Regions from separate parts of the Homo sapiens genome. Here all the other regions are linked to region 2. Evidence: promoter capture Hi-C in human tissues and cell types (Jung and others, 2019). All regions are on one chromosome and are shown on one strand. Each heading gives the region's core, a stretch centred on a gene start or on the middle of the fragment in contact. The rest is flanking DNA. Distances are from core to core; before and after follow the strand shown. Region 1 overlaps CPAP (centrosome assembly and centriole elongation protein). Region 2 holds the start of RNF17 (ring finger protein 17). Region 3 has its middle 47 kb from the start of CPAP.

Region 1 (3,328 bases), core at 319-2,818, 130 kb after region 2:
GCTGGAAATGTCTAGAAGCAATTCGAGATCACGTGCAGCTGCAAGTGATAGCGACTGACCTAGAGTCGAGGAAGGAGCAGGGCACCGAAGCCCATCAGTGGTGAGGCAGCAGGTGCGGCCCGGCCCATGCCCCTGCACCTCAGTAATCCCTGCGGCAGCCACACGGCAGCCTGGTGAGGATGGAGAGGACATCTGGGCCCCACCACAGAGGGTGTGGACTTTGGATTGGGTGACATCAAGGTTCACATCCGAGTTTTCTGACTTGAATGCTTAAAACAAGGTAAGATCCACAACCTCCATGAATATCAGGTTTCCCATTTGTGAGACGGATTATGACCAATAAAAGAAAAATTTCTGGTAAGCACTTTTATCATGCAGGAATATGGATTTAATATGAAAATGGTAAAATACAAGTCTAAATGGGTTCAGAATTCAAGAGCAATTAATATTTACAAAATATCTGTTATCAGGCACTGTCACAGGCCCTTATTATACTAAGAACAAAGCTCCATCTCATGAGGCTCACTCTGCCGGGGACAGTGGGAGGGTGATGGGAGAGTGGCTGGGGCAGGTGAGGGGGTGACGGGAGAGTGGCCAGGGCAGGTAAGGTGGCGGGGCTGTGTGGGGAGGCAGGATGACACGTGCTGGGTGTCACTGAACAGAGCTGGGGGAGGCAGCGCGTGTGGGAAGCAACAGGAGGGTGCCTGGCACAGTGCCAGCACTACAAGGGACCAGCGCAGATGACAAGTAAATGGCAGGAGGACTGGCCAGGGACAGGAAGGGGAAAAAAGGCCCAGTCACATAGGGACTGAGGTTCTTGGAGGAAGGAAAGCAGAGGCATATGGAGGTGTCTGAGCGAAGGGGATCCGTTGTCACGTGGAGCGACGCCACAGGGACGGGGTAAGAGCGGAGGCCAAGCCGCCAGCAAGTCATTAACCCAGAGGTGGCAACTGGAATCTGAGTGGACTTTCTGTCAGAACAGCAAGGAATGGAAGAGCAAGAGAAGCCTCGAGAATGATTCGAGGCCTCTGGCCCAAGCACAGGGGAAGACGGCACCAGGATGGACACTGGCAGACGGCCGCGATGAGGCCTGGGGGTTCACAGTGGCTCCACAGGGGCCGTGTCAGTGCCATAGAATGACCGGAGGCCGCGCTGCAGGGCGTGTGGCGAAAACAGCTGGTGAGATTTGGAGATCCAGGCACAGTGAATATGGGCAAGGCTTTTAAGGAGTTTTGCTGCAAAGGAAAAAACAGATAGGGCTGTGGGGTTGAGTGAGTTTTGTTTAAAGAAATGCCAGCCAGCGGTAAGGATGGGAAGGCTGGGGGCAGAACGCGCGGAGGAGACAGAAGGCGGAGGCGGAGGGTGGGCTCCGTGGGCGGGACACGGGGATGGAGTGGGTGGAGGATGACACGCCCTCGGGGTGCAAAGGGAGGGAGAGGCCGCAGCCAGCCAGCAGAGACCCTGGGGATGGGGGAGAGGAAGAGAGGGGAGCCCCTAGGCTGGGGGACTGGTGAGGGTCCAGACCCAGACAGACGGGAGAGGAGCCGGGAGGGGAAACTGGCAGGAGGAAACGACCTGCGGGGTGAAGCCAGCAGGCCTGGCTGGCGGGTGGGATCCGCGGCTGGGGCGCAGACTTCCAGCGCAGCGCGAAAGCTCAGAGGCAAGGCCTCCACGTCCCGCGGGCAAGGCTCAGGCAGAGGCGGCTGCCAGGTCCCGGTGAGCACGGCTGAGAGCCAGCGCCGTGAAAACGGGAAGAAAGCGCAGAAGCCAGGGCAGGGAAGGCCGAGGGGACTCCGCACCTGCGGAAGGCGCAGCCGGCTCTGTCAACCTCCACAGGCTCTACGCTCAGAGCAGCCCCGGAGGAGCCCGGCTCCTTGCAGCGCAGTAGATGCCAGACCCCGAGCAGGTTTAAAAAAGAAAGCCAAGGCCGGGTGTGGTGGCTCACGCCTGTAATCCCAGCACTTTGGGAGGCTGAGACGGGCGGATCACAAGGTCAGGAGATCAAGACCATCCTGGCTAACACGGTGAAACCCCGTCTCTACTAAAAATACAAAAAAAAATTAGCCGGGCGTGGTGGCGGGTGCCTGTAGTCCCAGCTACTGGGGAGGCTGAGGCAGGAGAATGGCGTGAAGCCGGGAGGGGCCGGCCACTGCACTCCAGCCTGGGTGACAGCGTGAGACTCCGTCAAGAAAGAAAAGAAAGAAAAGAAAAGAAAAAAAGGAAGGAAAGAAAGGAAATAAAGAAAGAAAGCCAAAACCAAACAGTCTTAAATAACCCGTTGTTCCAGAAAGCAGTGCTCTCAAAACGCCAAGGGCAGCACTAAATGGCAAGGGAGCCATGGACTTAAAGGGGCTCCCCCACTGGTCAAGTTGGGACCACTTAAATATCAAAATGGAAATTTTATAATTAATTAGAGTAACCTGAGTGTGTGAAAAGCTATGACTCAGTAATGATTAATATAAATTCCAGGAGGGCAGAAATTGCTAACTCATCAATTCCTCAATGATTACAAGTGTCTAGTACATAAGGGGTTCTCAATAAATTTGCTGAATGAATACCCAAAATAAAATAGTTAATATTTTTCAACATAACTGTAATGTAAAGGAAGGTTAAATATGCCCTCTCCTTAATTTTTTGATGATTTAATAGAGTATCAATAAACATAGGTTTGTTTTCTATTAAGTATATATCTGTTTTTAAAGTATATTTTTGCACAGAAGTAAAAAGAAAGGTAAATACGGGGAACTATGAATAAGCCAAATGGTGTAAGGAAGAAAAGGAACTGCACCAAAACCAGCAAGAAATAATGAATACCCAGGGTTACACATGATAACCAAGTACGAACAGGGTCCAAACTTCAATCAACACCAGAAGTCATATAAACGAACAAAGGCGAGAGTTCAAGAATGAGTTCCTGAAGAGGGACGGCAACTCACCAGCCCAGCCCCTTGCCACCCAACAAGCCCCTTGAATGGGCACAGCCCAGAGCTGCCAGCAGTGAGGATGTGCCCAGTCCTGCATGGTGCAGTGTGGCAGCCACCAGCCAGCCACAGGTGGCTACTACTAAGTCCTGGAAATGTAGCTAATGGGAATGAGAAACTGAATTTTCAATTTACCTCTAATTAATTTAAATGGAAATAGCCACACAGGGATAAGAGCTAGCAGCCTGGACTGCAGAGCCTGAGAATCAGAGGACACATCTTGTGAGGGAAAGGCATCAAGTTGCAAGAAAAGAAAACCCACGTTATTCATCTAACAAAGTACAACAACAAAAAGAAGTGTGTTTGCTCTGGTTTGAATCCTTGGAAGAAGTAGTCAGGATCAGAGC
Region 2 (3,793 bases), core at 714-3,213:
CTAAAATACAAAAAATCAGCTGGGCGTGGTGGCATGCGCCTGTAGTCCCAGTTACTGGGGAGGCTGAGACAGGAGAATTGCTTGAACCCGGAGACCAAGGTTGCAGTGAGCTGAGATCTCGCCATTGCACTCCAGCCTGGGCGACAGAGCAAGACTCCATTTCTAAAAAAAAAAAAAAAAAAAAAAAAGAGAATATGAATTGATGAAGAGTGAACAGTAGGTATTCCAGATGAGGGGAATAGGGAATAATACTCACAAAACTGTAGAAGAGTCAACATGTTACATGAGAATATTGGCTTGATTAGTACTCAGTTCCATCATGGATTAGTAGTGGAAACTATTGGATGAGTAGTAGAATGAGGGTAATTTAGGGAAGCAGTACTTTTCTCTCGAAGACAACAAATTACAAAGATTTTTGAGCCGAAGTGAGCCTTTCAAGAGAATACTTACTTCACAGTTTCTAGTTACCCACACACAGTGTAGAGAGAAAAGAAAATGAGGAATATGGGCAGGCTTTATTCTTAGCAGCAAAAGGCAACCGTGCCACCTCCAGGTGTTTTGTTTGAAATACACCTGCCACCTTTCTACTAGATTACTTCATTCCTTGCTCACAAAACGTCTCATGCACTCTACTGCTTAAAGAGTAAAGTCCAAACTCCTCAGCCTTACACTCGAGATTCTCCGAAATTCTTCCCTGACACACCTCTCCAAAGAAGCTTACTTTAAGGAAACTCATACTCTGGCTAAATGGTCTTTAAATTCTCAAGAAGTCACTGTGTCTTCCATCTACCTTCCCTCACATCTACCTTCCCTCGCTGATGTGTTCTTTATTCTTGGAATCCCTTAGTTCTTGTTTACTCCTGTAAGTACTACCTAGGTTGTAAGGTCTAGTGCAAACCCTATATCCTCTACGAAGAGTTTTCATACCACCGTAGACCATATTGACTTCATTTCTTCATTGCTTTTTGTGAACTATGCTTGGACAAGTTGCTTCAACTCTTTTTTTTTTTTTTTTGAGACGCAGTCTCGCTCTGTCGCCCAGACTGGAGTGCAGTGGTATGATCTCGGCTCACTGCAAGCTCCGCCTCCCAGGTTCACGCCATTCTCCTGCCTCAGCCTCCCAAGTAGCTGGAACTACAGGCGCCCACCGCCACGTCCGGCTAATTTTTTTTTTTTTTTTTTTTTGTATTTTTAGTAGAGACAGGGTTTCACCATGTTAGCCAGGATGGTCTCGATCTCCTGACCTCGTGATCTGCCCGCCCTGGCCTCCCAAAGTGCTGGCATTACAGGCGTGAGCCACCGCGCCGGGCCCAGAAGGCTAATTCTTACTGTCTCTAACACAGGTCCGGTACATAACACTTATTTTGGCGGAAGTTACTGGGTTTTTTTAAGGAGTTATGTATCTCTCAAGCAGAAACCTGCTAGTTCATAAATTCTTAGCATCCCCAACCACTCTTGGCACGCTGCCTTGTATATTATTAGGCTCAACAGCAGTTAGTAATGATGAACACTCCTTAATTCGAAAGCGTTCACTGAATCTACCCCAACGATAGCTTCTCATTAGCTTCTCCACTCCAGCTGCTATTGGCCAAGCCCTGGATGCCCGAAGCACACAGGTTTAGGGCTTCTGGCCCTGACACGTAATAGGGAAAGGGGATTGTTTCAATCCAAATGATTATCTATAAAGTCACTCACAATGTAAGTAATAATATGCGAAATTTTAATTTGTGATGACTAAAAGCACTAAAGTGGTGACTCTTTGGGTAGAACGTAAAAACGAACGGTCCTCAACGGCCACAAGGCGCCCCTTCTAGGAGTGGTACCTCCCAGGATAACGGAAAACAGCCCCAGCCCCATCAGGAGCGAGCTTGGGGGCGGGCTTTAATCTCCCGGCCCACTGTTTGGCTATCTGCAGGGGCTGGCCTCCAATGATTGGTCGCTGCCGCGAGGGCCGCCGGGACTCGCACTCGGCGGTTGTTCCAGAAGAAAGAGACAGCGATGGCGGCAGAGGCTTCGAAGACTGGGCCTTCTAGGTCTTCCTACCAGCGAATGGGGAGGAAGAGTCAGCCCTGGGGTGCCGCTGAAATCCAGTGCACCAGGTGTGGAAGGAGGGTATCCAGATCATCCGGTGAGGAGCCCAAGGGCCCACCTAGCGGGGAGGCAGCCTGGAGGGAGCGCTGGGGGCCAGGTGAGCTGGTGGGCGCGTGAGGCTTGGTCAGCTGCATCCAATCCTGGTGTCACCAGAAACTGCGTCACAGGCCTCCCGCGAGCTGCACCCGACCTCTAAGAGGGCAGTGCTTGGGTTGGTTAAGGGCAGCACCTGCGCCTGTCACGGCTTTCTCCAATTACCCATCCAGGCCTCACCGACCCTCCAGCCGGGAGGATGGGGGCCCGGGTGGCTTTAATCTACTCCTCACAAGGCAGGTTAGCGGGTGCATGCAAAAGTAGACATAAAATGTAGCCCATTGTTTTGTCATCAAGAAGGAACGAAACTTGATTTTCTCCTGTAGTTTTTGTTGTAGGAGTAACAAGTAGACCATTGTGAAATGGTTTTGGATTTTGTTGTTGTTGTTAGCATTTTGTTGTTTCTGTGGGGGTTTTTTTGTTTGTTTTTTACATTATGGCTCACACTGGCCTAAAACACTGTTTGGAAAATGATAGTTTCTTTTGTGCACCTTGTGGGGTGTGTGTGTGTGTGTGTGTGTGTGTGTGTGTGTGTTGGTCTTTATACGTGAGGGGAAAAATACACTGCACTATTATTGGTCTGTTCACCTACAATCTACTCAAGTGATCACAGGTTCAAGTTATTTATTATTATTTTTTTCTTTGAGTTGGAGTCTCGCTCTGTAGCCCAGGCTGGAGTGCAGTGGCGCGATCTCGGCTCACTGCAAGCTCCGCCTCCCAGGTTCACGCCATTCTCCTGTCTCAGCCTCTGGAGTAGCTGGGACTACAGGCGCCCGCCACCACGCCCGGCTAATTTTTTGTATATTTAGTAGAGACAGGGTTTCACCGTGTTAGCCAGGATGGTCTCGATCTCCTGACCTCGTGATCCGCCCGTCTTGGCCTCCCAAAGTGCTGGGATTACAGGCGTGAGCCACCGCGCCCGGCCGGTTCAAGTTATTTTAATGTAACTTAAAATACCTTAGTGTGCTCTTAATACAGCTGAGTTGTTGAATCTCAATTCCTGGAGCTACTGAAAATTCGTATTACCTGGCGTAACTGTTTAATGTTTATACTTTCAAAGTTAAGGTCATTCGATCAGTTTTCTCAGTCTTGGCAAGATGGACTCTGTGAGATGTGAGCCTCTGCAGAAAAAGTTGTGATTTCAGTGGAGAACCAAGTTTCTCCTACTTGGGGTTTAGATCACTGCTACCGTTACGTAGAAAATTTCCATTTTTGAATGAAATTAAAATTACGGAATAAAGTTCTAGAACACAACCTTTTAAAATGAGTACTTCTTCCATACATTAGTATTATAATGCTTAGAAAAACTAAACTGGAGAAGTAGTGGTTATGTATATAGAATCCTGAAAGTGCTTTTTAAGCTGTAATTCACCACAAGTTATTTTGAGTTATTCAGTATCAGAAATTTTATAATAGTTAAGTGTTTTTATTTCTTTGGCAATATTATCCCTGGAAGTTAAATAGGGTTTTAAAATTTAGCATGGTTGTAAGCAAGTTTCAGGTATTTCAGTTGGATAGGAAACTTGTAAAGTTTTTAAAAAATACAATTAATGCAAGGCCGGGCACAGTGGCTCACGCCTATAGTCCCAGCACTTTGGGAGGCCGAGGT
Region 3 (3,392 bases), core at 780-3,279, 210 kb after region 2:
CATTTGACTGATAAAAGTGAGTGAAGCCTCAGTATGTGAGAGAGGCAGACAGCATCCCTCTGTCTCACCTTTCCACTGGAGATCCACGCAACCCGGGCAGAGGAAGAGATTGTTTCTCCCAAACCTTGACGATCATTTGAGGAAAGACTTGGAGACTTTGTGGGGGAAAGACACAGGGAAACGCTGCCGGCATTGTCCCAAACCTGGACTGGGAGCAGGACAACACTGGGGGAATCTTCCCTATCTGGCTCCACCCATCTTGTGCCCCCAATCCCCCTACCCCTAGGGCTGAGGGAGCTCAGATTAATGTGTACTCAGGAAATCAGCCCATTCCTGGGGCAGCAGAGAGCTCCTCCCAATAAACAAGGATCAAGTACACAGCCAGCAGCACTGGCAACAGCCAGCTCTTACCCATGGCGCCATCTACTGGCTTGTAGGTCAAACCACACACCCAATATAAAACCTGCTGGCAGAAGTGCATAGGGCTACAGAAGCAAAGCCAAAAGACCCTACCCAGCATGCTCTACAGCCACACCCCCTAGAGAGGAGGGAAAGGGAAAGAAGAAAAAAAATAACAATAATATTATAGAAAAGGAAAGAAAAAGAAAAAATCCTACCCAAACAAAAATAATTACACAAATTAGAAGTGCTAGCATCTCCAGATGAGAGGGACCCACGCAAGAATTCTGGCACCATGAGAAATCTGAATGTAGTGACACTACCAAAGGATCACACTAGCTCTCTGGCAATGCTTCGTGCCAAAATGAAAACTCAGAGATGACAATAAACATTTCAAAGCTTGGGTTGCAAGGAAGCTCAATGAGATTCAAGGTTGAAATCAACAAAAAGAAACTTCTACATCAATCCAGGAAATGAAGGAAGAGATAAACATCTTAATAAGAAATCAATCAGAACTTCTAGAATTAAAAAAACTCACTTAAGGAACTTCAAAATACAACTGAAAGCTTTATCAATAGACTGGACAAAGTAGAAAACATAATTTCAGAGCTTGAAGACTGGTCTTTTGAACTAATCCAGTCAGACAAAGATAAAGAAAAAAGATTTTTTAAAAGTGAAGAAAGTCAGAAATATGAGATTATGTAAAGTGATCAAACCTACGAATTACTGGCATGCCCTAGAGAGAAACAGAAAAAGAAAACAGCCTGGAAAACATATTTGATGGAATAATTCAAGAAAATTTATTGAATCTTGCTAGATAGACATCTAAGTACAATAAAGCCAGACAGCACCTGTGAGATACTATAAAAAATGAACATTACCAAGGCATATACTCACCAGACTGTCCAAGGTCACTGTCAAAGAAAAAGCCCTAAAGGCACTGGAGAAAAAGGCCAGATCACATACAAAGGTAGCCCCATCAGGATAACAGCAGACTTCTCAGCAGAAACCTTAGAAGCCAGGAGAGATTGAGGGATCTATTTTCAGAATTGTTAAAGAAAATAAATTATAATCAACAGATTCATATCCTGCCAAACTAAGCTTCATGAGTGAAGGAGAAATAAAAACATTTTTCTTTTTTTTTTTTTTAAATTTATTTTTTATTTATTTTTTTTTATTGATCATTCTTGGGTGTTTCTCGCAGAGGGGGATTTGGCAGGGTCATAGGACAATAGTGGAGGGAAGGTCAGCAGATAAACAAGTGAACAAAGGTCTCTGGTTTTCCTAGGCAGAGTGTGTGTGTCCCTGGGTACTTGAGATTAGGGAATGGTGATGACTCTTAACGAGTATGCTGCCTTCAAGCATCTGTTTAACAAAGCACATCTTGCACCGCCCTTAATCCATTTAACCCTGAGTGGACACAGCACATGTTTCAGAGAGCACAGGGTTGGGGGTAAGGTCACAGATCAACAGGATCCAAAGGCAGAAGAATTTTTCTTAGTACAGAACAAAATGAAAAGTCTCCCATGTCTACTTCTTTCTACACAGACACAGCAACCATCCGATTTCTCAATCTTTTCCCCACCTTTCCCCCTTTTCTATTCCACAAAACCGCCACTGTCATCATGGCCCGTTCTCAATGAGCTGTTGGGTACACCTCCCAGACGGGGTGGTGGCCGGGCAGAGGGGCTCCTCACTTTCCAGTAGGGGTGGCCGGGCAGAGGCGCCCCTCACCTCCCGGACGGGGCGGCTGGCCGGGCAGGGGGCTGACCCCCCCCTACCTCCCTCCCGGACGGGGCGGCTGGCCGGGCGGGGGGCTGACCCCCCCACCTCCCTCCCGGACGGGGCGTCTCGCCTGGCGGGGGGCTGACCCCCCCACCTCCCTTCCGGACGGGGTGGCTGCCGGGCGGAGACGCTCCTCACTTCCCAGACGGGGTGGCAGCCGGGCGGAGGGGCTCCTCACTTCTCAGATGGGGCGGCTGCCGGGCGGAGGGTCTCCTCACTTCTCAGACGGGGCAGCGGGGCAGAGGCGCTCCCCACATCTCAGACGATGGGCGGCCGGGCAGAGACGCTCCTCACTTCCTAGATGGGATGGCGGCCGGGAAGAGGCGCTCCTCACTTCCTAGATGGGATGGCGGCCGGGCAGAGACGCTCCTCACTTTCCAGACTGGGCAGCCAGGCAGAGGGGCTCCTCACATCCCAGACAATGGGTGGCCAGGCAGAGACGCACCTCACTTCCCAGACGGGGTAGCGGCCGGGCAGAGGCTGCAATCTCGGCACTTTGGGGGGCCAAGGCAGGCGGCTGGGAGGTGGAGGTTGTAGCCGAGATCACGCCACTGCACTCCAGCCTGGGCACCATTGAGCACTGAGTTAACGAGACTCCATCTGCAATCCCAGCACCTCGGGAGGCCGAGGCTGGCGGATCACTCGCGGTTAGGAGCTGGAGACCAGCCCGGCCAACACAGCGAAACCCCGTCTCCACCAAAAAAATACGAAAACCCGTCAGGCGTGGCGGCGCGCGCCTGCAATCGCAGGCACTGGGCAGGCTGAGGCAGGAGAATCAGGCAGGGAGGTTGCAGTGAGCCGAGATGGCAGCAGCACAGTCCAGCTTCGGCTCGGCATGAGAGGGAGACCGTGGAAAGAGAGGGAGAGGGAGAGGGAGACCGTGGAAAGAGAGGGAGAGGGAGAGGGAGCATAAAAACATTTTTCTAGAGAAGCAAATGCCAAGAGAGTTCATTACCACTAGACCAGTCTTACAAGAGATGCCTAAGGGAGTTCTAAACATGGAAATGAAAGAATGATACCTGCTATCATAAAAACACACTTAAGTACACAGCTCACAGACCCTATAAAACAACCATACAATAGAAAGTACAAAAAAACCAGCTAACAATTTCATGATAGGGTGAAAAGCTCACATGTCAATAGTAACCTTGAATGTAAACACACCACTTAAAAGTCACAGAGTGGGCTGGGTGCGGTGGCTATTCCTG

Evidence for each region. The method cuts DNA at HindIII sites, captures the fragments that hold promoters and counts their contacts. A contact is called where the count stands out against the background at its distance.
Region 1: a fragment that was not itself captured here is called in contact with the fragment with the promoter of RNF17 in region 2 in 2 of the 25 tissues and cell types used here (H1 embryonic stem cells and mesendoderm cells).
Region 3: a contact is called between a fragment that was not itself captured here and the fragment with the promoter of RNF17 in region 2, in 4 of the 25 tissues and cell types used here (H1 embryonic stem cells, IMR-90 fibroblasts, heart left ventricle and 1 more).

What each region holds. Positions count from the first base shown.
Region 1 is chr13:24,893,369-24,896,696 of GRCh38, forward strand. All of the region lies in intron 9 of CPAP (centrosome assembly and centriole elongation protein), which reads right to left. Among named protein-coding and RNA genes, the nearest start is that of CPAP, 28 kb to the right of the region's middle. RefSeq lists an enhancer at 390-1,308. The HindIII fragment of the contact is 7,479 bases long and covers 1-3,328 here.
Region 2 is chr13:24,762,206-24,765,998 of GRCh38, forward strand. RNF17 (ring finger protein 17) reads left to right here and starts at 1,964. Exons shown (of 36, transcript NM_031277.3): 1 at 1,964-2,128. The coding sequence starts at 1,999. The HindIII fragment of the contact is 17,753 bases long and covers 1-3,793 here.
Region 3 is chr13:24,968,138-24,971,529 of GRCh38, forward strand. It overlaps the pseudogene TPTE2P1. Among named protein-coding and RNA genes, the nearest start is that of CPAP, 47 kb to the left of the region's middle. RefSeq lists an enhancer at 1,458-2,365. The HindIII fragment of the contact is 4,516 bases long and covers 1-3,392 here.